Linked DNA regions of Homo sapiens: region 2 is linked to region 1. The links are contacts of gene promoters, found by promoter capture Hi-C in blood cells and fetal thymus (Javierre and others, 2016). All regions are on one chromosome and are shown on one strand. The core of a region is centred on a gene start or on the middle of the fragment in contact, and the rest is flanking DNA. Distances in the headings are between cores, read along the strand shown.

Region 1 (4,452 bases), core at 1,109-3,608:
GTCAATAAAAATATATGGAACATTAAGTAGAGGTAAAGAAGGGATTGTAACTAAACTTAGAATAACGAATTAAAACTCTCCCATGGCTTTGATATGGCAACTATAAAATGTAGGGTTACCACAAAGTTTGAAATTATAGAATACTATAGTATTCTTAAGAAATATTATGACATTATATTTTTAAGGTTTAATTAGGTAATAAGATTTGATCCTTTGATGGTATATTCAGTTATTCAACGGACAATATACGTCTACTTGTACTTTTATAAGTAAATATTTATATATACCGGAGGTCAATTTCTGTTTCTGTGGTAACTGCCCTACAGGTAAGCTTAGCAGCTTTTAATGAAGTAGAATTGAAATACTTTTGGGGGAAAGTCACACTTCTATTTAAGTATATGTATCTTTTTTCGGGATTATGTCATAGTGCAATGTAAATCTTAGTTATGGTATTTAGAATGTCAGAATGTCACATTTTGTGCTGATTTGCATACTTCAATAGTCTGGAGCAGTTGAAGCAGCTAAACTATTTAGCTCTGGGAAGGTTGGAATTCCCGTAAGAATTATAGTGATCTATGTGTAACATAACATGAGAATCAGACTTCCTGAAGTATCAACTACTAGAGGTATTACTAATAACAACGGGCCAAAAAAGAGGAAAAACTTCTTCAAAGGATAATGGATCAGTACTTTTAGCCAATTTGTGATTTTAAATTTTGCCTGATGGAGTTCAATTTCACTCTAGTCGAGGCATTCTTGTTCTTCACCACTGGCCTTTCTGCCATCCATTCTCTTTTCTTTATGGCTGTTGCAAATTTTCCTCATCTCTTCTTCATACTTGATAAAATTCTCCCCAAACCTTGTCCAAGCTTTGAATGGAACAGTAATAGTATTACGGTAAGGTGGTCTCACCTCACTTACCTTCAGGAAAATTCCATATTTATTAGAGCCCACATCAAAGTAGAACCTTTTATTGTCCACTCTGAAAGAAGTCCCCTCTGGGAGTTCAAGCGGGTCATCGTCTCCACCTCTTCGTTCTTCTATGTCTCCTTCGCCATAGTCTTCAATCAGCTGAACCAAGGCATCACGAAACTCAATCATTCCTTGTGCTGGGAGGACAATAGTCTGTTCTTGGCCCAAACTGTGGCCAAAATAACCTATCATGCCAGTCCCCCGCATCATGGTTTGTCTAATCCGTAGGAAGCGACCCCGCTGATTTTCCTTTAGGTCTAGGTAATATTTCCTATTGTCCCTCTCGATATAGTCTGTTTTCAGGACACTGTGAGGATGCTCTTCGGACCCCACCGAGACTGGTGGGGAGGGTGCCGAGTGCTTCTGCCTCCTTCTGGAGCCTTGCTCTTTGCTGTGGCCATGCTCTTGCCGGTGGCCTTTCAGGCCCAGGTGGGCATAGTGCTCGATGAAGTCCCCTAGACAGTCCTTCAGCTCCGCTGCCACAGACAGGGAGAGGGTCAGTTTACTCTTTCTGATGTTGTCCTGCCGGCCTCTCCCTATCCAGACTTCGGCTATCTTTAGGAAGCGGCCCCGGGAGCTTTGCTTCACGTCTAGGTAAAACCTCTTTTTCTGGATGTCCACTCGTTTGGAGGCCAGCTCCTGGATTTCGGCTGCGCCCCCGGCCTGATTAGGGGTGGCTGAGGCCGCGTAGTGGGGGTAGTGGGAGTGCTGGGCCTGGGGATAGAGTCTACTCTTGCTTAGGCCAGAGCCCCCTACATTCTTGCCTCCGCGGCCGCGGCCGCCGCCGCCTCCCCTTCGCCTGGCTCTTTCCATCTTCAGCTGCAAGTAACAAACAGACACACGGGATGGGGTGGGGGAGGGGTGTTGAGAACAATCGCAGACGCCCCTCGGCCTGACCGCCCCGCCGCCGCCCGCGACCCCCACGCCGGGCCCGGCTCCCCCGGCGCCGCAGCGCGGGGCTCCAGCCACTGCCGGCCGGTTGGCGGCCGCCGCTCCGGCTCTGCCCGCGCTCCCCGCATCCCTCCGCCGCCCCCGGGGCCGCTCCCGCACGCCGCCGCCGCCCGTCCCGCGCTCCGCGGCCCCAGGTCTCCAGCCGGCGGGCACTCACATCATCTCTGCCATCACCGCCGCCGCCGATGCCCTTCACGACCACCGCCGCCGCCACCGCCAGCTCTCGGCCCCTCTGCTGCAGCCGCCGCAGCCGCCGCCCCCCGCCTCCTCCCCCGCCGCCGCCGCTCGCACTGCCCCCCGCCGGAGCAGCCGGGCAGGGGCATCGCCCGCGGCGCCCACCGCAGCCGCCCCTCCTGCGGCCGCTGCGGGGGCCGCCGCCTGACTTCGGACACCGGCCCCGCACCCGCCAGGAGGGGAGGGAAGGGGAGGCGGGGAGAGCGACGGCGGGGGGCGGGCGGTGGACCCCGCCTCCCCCGGCACAGCCTGCTGAGGGGAAGAGGGGGTCTCCGCTCTTCCTCAGTGCACTCTCTGACTGAAGCCCGGCGCGTGGGGTGCAGCGGGAGTGCGAGGGGACTGGACAGGTGGGAAGATGGGAATGAGGACCGGGCGGCGGGAATGTTCTCACTTCTCCGGATTCCACCGGGATGCAGGACTCTAGCTGCCCAGCCGCACCTGCGAAGAGACTACACTTCCCGAGGTGCTCAGCGGCAGCGAGGGCCTCCACGCATGCGCACCGCGGCGCGCTGGGCGGGGCTGGATGGGCTGTGGTGGGAGGGTTGCAGCGCCGCGAGAAAGGCGAGCCGGGCCGGGGGCGGGGAAAGGGGTGGGGCAGGAACGGGGGCGGGGACGGCGCTGGAGGGGCGGGTCGGGTAGGTCTCCCGGAGCTGATGTGTACTGTGTGCGCCGGGGAGGCGCCGGCTTGTACTCGGCAGCGCGGGAATAAAGTTTGCTGATTTGGTGTCTAGCCTGGATGCCTGGGTTGCAGGCCCTGCTTGTGGTGGCGCTCCACAGTCATCCGGCTGAAGAAGACCTGTTGGACTGGATCTTCTCGGGGTAAAGTGTCTTCCTATTCCCGTTTTCCCAGCTCCGTGCCCCGGGGTATCTATAGTGCTAGGCTTCTGAGACACGTGGAGGCGCTTAGGCCCGCGGAGCAGGCCCCTGGGCTGTGTTTGGGAGATTCTGGAAAAACAGACTTTCTCCCTTTTCCTTTCCCCTCTGGAGCAGCTGGGAAAGGCGTCTCTCGGAGCTTCCGCCATTCAGAAAGTGTTTCCCCGCCCCTGACGGCCCCAGCTTGATGTTTACCTTGCGCGCTTAGTTAGGATTGCTCTTTCTAGTACGGCCTTTATTATGGCAGAAATTGAGCCACTACAGGTCTGCACAGCAAAGTCGAGGGAAATAACCTGCTGTCTATGATTTAGCAAGTGATGATGGATATTTTTGAGTTCAAATCACTCAGTCTTTAATGGATTTTCTTTTCTTTTTTTCCTAGTTGAATCTCAGTTGTTCTCAGGCTAGGTTTGATATGAAAAATACTACTCCCTATTGAAGAGGGTAATATAATTCTTAGGATGCTAATACAGGAGTCTGTAAGTCGGAGTACTTCAGGCTTTTTATGGTTCGGTACATTTCTTTTTAGGGGTGGGATATTGGGATAAGTAGGACAGTTCAGATCTTGATGTCATTGAATAGTGGTGTCTACCTAAAAGGAAGAGGCTGGGGCACAAAATTATAATTTAAAGTGTTTACTTCAGCCAAAATGAGGACAGCTGCCCAGGACTCATTTCCCAGTTGCCTTGGGGAGTGCTCCTTCAGCCTTGGTTACAAGCAGGTTTTTAAAGGCGAAGGGGAAGAGTGGGCTGAGACAAAGTTGGTCAGGAATTGTTATTGGTTTACAGAGATACCATTGCTTAGTGATTGGCTGTACACTGTAACTCATAGGGTATGAGTTATCGTGTCCAGCATATGGCATTTTATGGCTTCTTGGTTCCAGTCTAGAGCCCATATAGCAGGTGGGCTTTAAGAGATAATTATCCAGCTCAGACCGGGAGTGAGACGGGACTGTTTTTTCATTCTAATGCCTCTCTGGGCCTGATAATTTAAAGGGGCTTGCATTCTTCAGCTAAAATTTTATTTTCTTTTATTTTTTTTCCCCCACAGTGGTCTCCCTTTATTAATCCAACAAATGTTTATTAAGGACTGCTCTAGGCACTAGAGATACCAACAATGAACAAAACAGACAAACATCTCTCTCCTTTTGGAGCTTACATTTTAGTGGAAAGAGACAGGCAAAAAGTAAAATTATAGGATGACAGAAGGTGAAAATAGAGATTAAAAAGGAAAGGGGGATGAAGAGTGTGTGTGTGTGTTGTGGGTGGGGGGCTGTAGGGAGCTGCAGTTTTACAATAAGTGGTCAGGGACGTCCTCGCTGAGAAGGGAATTTTTGAGTCCAGAGCTCAAGGAAGTGAGAGAACTTACCTTGACGTTCTCTGGAGGAGAAGAAAGTACAAAGGCCCTGGGGGAACCTGCCTC
Region 2 (4,240 bases), core at 1,568-4,067, 1.8 Mb before region 1:
AGTGGTTTCTTCCATTTTCAGCACTTAAGAAGTGGAAAAGTCGGACAGTTATTGTTTTATGGAGGTGAGAGGGTAAAAGCTAATGCCAATTAAACAACATTGTATTTTATATTATAAATGTATATTTCTTGAAAAGAGGTCTGGCCAGCCAGAGCAACAAAGTGAGACCCTATCTCTACAAAAAATATTGAAATTAGACAGACATGGTTGTGCACACCTATGTACCAACTCCACAGCAGGCTGCAGCAGGAATATCGCTAGAGCCCAGGAGGTTGAGGTTGAGGATGCAGTGAGTGATGATCATGCCACTGCACTCCAGCCTGGGCAACAGAGGGAGACCCTGTCTCAAAAAAAATAAATAAATAAAAACAAAGAAACCAACCAACAAACAAAAAACAGGAGATTTGGGGAAAAGAATTTAAAAGTATACCTTCTTCTCAAAATGCCTCTGGCCCTATGTGCATATATCCAAATTTCAGTCACTGAGTTGACAGTAGAAACAAAACAATGTTGTAATACATGTGTGTCTCATTCACCATTAGCATGTCAAGCAGATGCTGACAAAACAAGTATCTTCTGTTTTAGCAAATACTGCCAGAAATTTCCATCCACGGTCCTCCTTGGCTCCACATCTGTCAGTGATCTCTCTGAGAATACTGAAGAATCACCAATGACCCCAGGGGTCAAAGCCACCTTCTCCTGTCCCTTCATTTCCTAAGGGTCACCTCTATCTTCACTGACTACCAGCATCTTCTAAGCTTCCTCGCACTTGCTGGGTTTTTCCTTTGCCTGTTGATTCACAGCTGCTTAATTTTGACCGACTTCCTTATGCTTCCCATTCACAAGGCTTCATTTTCAGCAAGCGCTTTTAAATCCTGCCCAGCTATGCCAGAAATCGGTCATCTACTGAAGCTTCCAATCTTGCTTTGGGATCTAGCAATCTTTCCCCGTTGTGTTTGTGTCCAAGCCCCATACAAGGTCCCAAGAAGCAAAACAGAGTGCGTGGACCAGCCACCCTAGGTCCGGACTTCTGGCCTGGCTGCTTTCAGGGCTTCCTGCAATCCACCTGACCTTTCCTGTCCCATCATTCTCTAGCTATCCTCACAGAATCTCCATTCTGGCAGGCAGATCTCATCTCTGCTGCCTAAACCTGCTTTACTCATTCTAGTCTCTGTGTCCTCACTCTCAGGCCATACTTCCTCCTCAAAGAATACATGCCATCCCCTCTCCCGTGCTCACATCATAAGCTTCCTCCCTGGAAGTCCAACCAAAGTTCACCCTCCTCAGTGAAGTCTAAACTCCTCTCGATTCCCTTATTTCCCTGTCATTCACCTGGCACTTAGTAACTAGCAGCCTGCTACAGCTGTTTACCTTTTAATCTAATCTTTTCACAGGCATTTTCTTTTCAAGCCCATGACAGTCATTTCCTCACAGGCATGAACCATAAAGCATGCTTTAAGAAACTGAATATGATGGTAACAGGCAACCCTAAGAAAACTTTTAGGAAGTAAAATCCCCCTAACAAGAACAATCAATTTCACTTTTTCATGTTTCTTTCTAGCTCTTGCCCATTCCTGTATACATTTTTACATAGTAATAATAATAGATTTGATCAGTTACACGTACAGCTTTACATTCTTTTTCCACTAACAGAGAAAACGATCTTCCTTGTTAAATGGTTTTGACTGTCATCATTTTAATCGCTGTATAATAGTCCCTCCATTGAGATACTAGATCATGATTACCAAGGCACTGACTCTACATTGACTCTATTAGACATTATTACATACTTCTGTGTCTTTCACCACATCAAGTATTGGAAAATGCCAAGTAAACTCATTTGAAATATCTCCTGAAATAAATTTCTTGTCCATTCTCCCTAACACCTGAAATAATCTATTTCACTGTTTCTATCTTCATTTCTTTCGTTTCCCGGTTCTACCCCCTTAGGCTAGGTAGGTAACAAAGGTATTCCAAACACCTTTTATAGATATTTACTTATTTTGGTAGTTGATCTTATACAGATTTACACACAGGAAATCCCTTGAGGAAAAGCATTAAGATCTCATCCTATCTAATATAAGCCAGATACCTGGCAGGCACTCAATCAATGTTTGCTTACCTATTAAATGTTTTTTAAGCCACCTAAAGTTAGAAAACATCAAATTCCTGGAAAGGAGAATGTTGCTGATCTAACTAATCCCACCAATTACGGCTACAGAACTTTCAGCTCCTGTAATGATTAGACGGGTTAATAATGTATGAATGGGTGTTCTGTGCGGCACATGGAAGCACACAAGAATTATCTGTTTAGCTGTACAGTCTGAACAACAACACTGGAAAACAAACGATATCTGCAAATAGAACTTGAAGATCTTGTGACAAAAATTTACCCTTTTCTCTAGTTGTTTAGCTTTGCATCTCAGATGAAGAAAGGCAAAATAAAGGTTGTAATATTAAAATTATGTAAAATTACATACACGTGTGAGCACAAACTGGCATGGAAATGAAAAGCTGTTAGGATGAAGAAAGTATGTGAACTTTTTTCTTTTTCTTTTTCCTTTTGTTAGTGGAATGTTAAAATAAATGTATGACTAGACAAATATTTCTGACAAATTAGCCATTACAACTCTTCCTGTTACTGAATTAGGGCCTAATGCTTAACCTTCAAATAACTAAGGTTCCCAAACCCACATACAGTTTAGCAGAAAGACTAAAATACTCTCACTTCGAGGATAACTGTTAAATAATAAATCAGCTAACCACCTTAAAACTCCAAACACCTAAGCACAACCACTGAATCACACAAGAACTTAATACACCAGAGTTTTCTGGAAATTTTCAGATTTTCCTCAAAAGATAGCTAATGTGATTCCAAATATCAGAGTCTACACAGTAAAACTACATCATCACAGTAACCCATTCTCATCCCCGTCCTCTTTTATAGATAGCGATTTATAAGGTTGCTTCCGGCACCTATATGATAGAAACTATTAGGACTCAAGTTTTACTCTTTGTCATAATTATACAGTATTACATAATACTAATAACTGTTCAAAGTAATATTCTTTTCAAAATTACTGGAAAGGTTCCTACAGATCATACAAGGAAGAAAAAAAAGGAAATTACTGGAAAGAAATATGGTTTTGTTTTAGTCTTTTTTTTTTTTGAGACAGAGTTTCACTCTTGTCGCCCAGGGTGGAGCACAGTGGCACGATCTTGGCTCACTGCAACCTCCGCCTCCTGGGTTCAGGCTATTCTCCCGCCTCAGCCTCCTTAGTAGCTGGGATTACAGGCGTCCACCACCACGCCCGGCTAATTTTTTGTATTTTTAGTAGAGACAGGGTTTTGCCATGTTAGGCAGGCTGGTCTCGAACTCCTGACCTCAGGTGATCCACCCGCCTCGGCCTCCCAAAGTGCTGGGATTATAAGCGTAAGCCACCGTGCCTGGCCTGTTTTAGTCTTTTTATACAAACTTTGGACACCAATTTTTAAAAATCACTGGATTTACAATCCCACCACACTGTATTCCATAATAACCTTTATATTTATGTGAACAATTACTTCATAACAAAAATGGAAAAGAACAAATTTATGTGTGGTAATCACTGAAAAAAGAAGTCCACATGCACGTCAGGAAATATAAGGCTAAGAATGGGCACTAAGTGAACACAGGAGGTACTTTACACCAAATAATGCACTTCTCTATATAGGCTAATGGAATCTATGGGTAAACCTCAATTTCAAAATGATTGTTGAACCCAAGGATCAGCTCACATCCGTTCCACAGCTAAAACTATTATTCTTTGCCTTCCTCTAAACTCTGATGTTTATTACAACCTTATCAATGGCAATTTATAAGAGAAAAGCATAAGAATTTCCCTCAAAAAGTGAAACCAATGGGGAAAGGGAGAGGGAAAGGGCTCTAAATATCTGAGATGTCTTTTGTGGTGGTTGGTTAGCGGCCTCTTTTTAGCACTGACATTTCCAAGTTTTTTGTGAAAAGGAAATTTTAAGAATGTGCTGAAACCATCCTTTCAGAATCAATTCCCAGATAAGTTATGTTTCATTTGGCTTCTTTCTTTAAATTATTGTGATGGTAAACTGGAAGTAAACTGAAATACAGATACCTGAATATTTAAAAACTGATGCTTCTGAAAATTTTCAGAATTGTATCGACGTTTATTGTGTGTTGTCAGAGCACGAGATTAGTGAAGCAAAGCAGGACTCAATCTTGCAC

The links. The method cuts DNA at HindIII sites, captures the fragments that hold promoters and counts their contacts. A CHiCAGO score of 5 or more calls a contact.
Region 2: a fragment that was not itself captured here is called in contact with the fragment with the promoter of PURG in region 1 in 1 of 17 cell types (non-activated CD4 T cells); the score reaches 5.5 in non-activated CD4 T cells.

The regions. Positions count from the first base shown.
Region 1 is chr8:31,030,998-31,035,449 of GRCh38, forward strand. PURG (purine rich element binding protein G) reads right to left here and starts at 2,359. Exons shown (of 2, transcript NM_001323311.2): 1 at 2,081-2,359; 2 at 1-1,791. The coding sequence starts at 1,785. The coding sequence ends at 742. It overlaps WRN (WRN RecQ like helicase), which reads left to right and starts at 2,813. Exons shown (of 35, transcript NM_000553.6): 1 at 2,813-2,976. RefSeq lists silencers at 2,341-2,390, 2,551-2,810, 3,781-3,850 and enhancers at 2,566-3,087, 3,921-3,970. The HindIII fragment of the contact is 5,494 bases long and covers 868-4,452 here.
Region 2 is chr8:29,257,465-29,261,704 of GRCh38, forward strand. All of the region lies in intron 1 of KIF13B (kinesin family member 13B), which reads right to left. Among named protein-coding and RNA genes, the nearest start is that of KIF13B, 3.5 kb to the right of the region's middle. The HindIII fragment of the contact is 3,145 bases long and covers 1,246-4,240 here.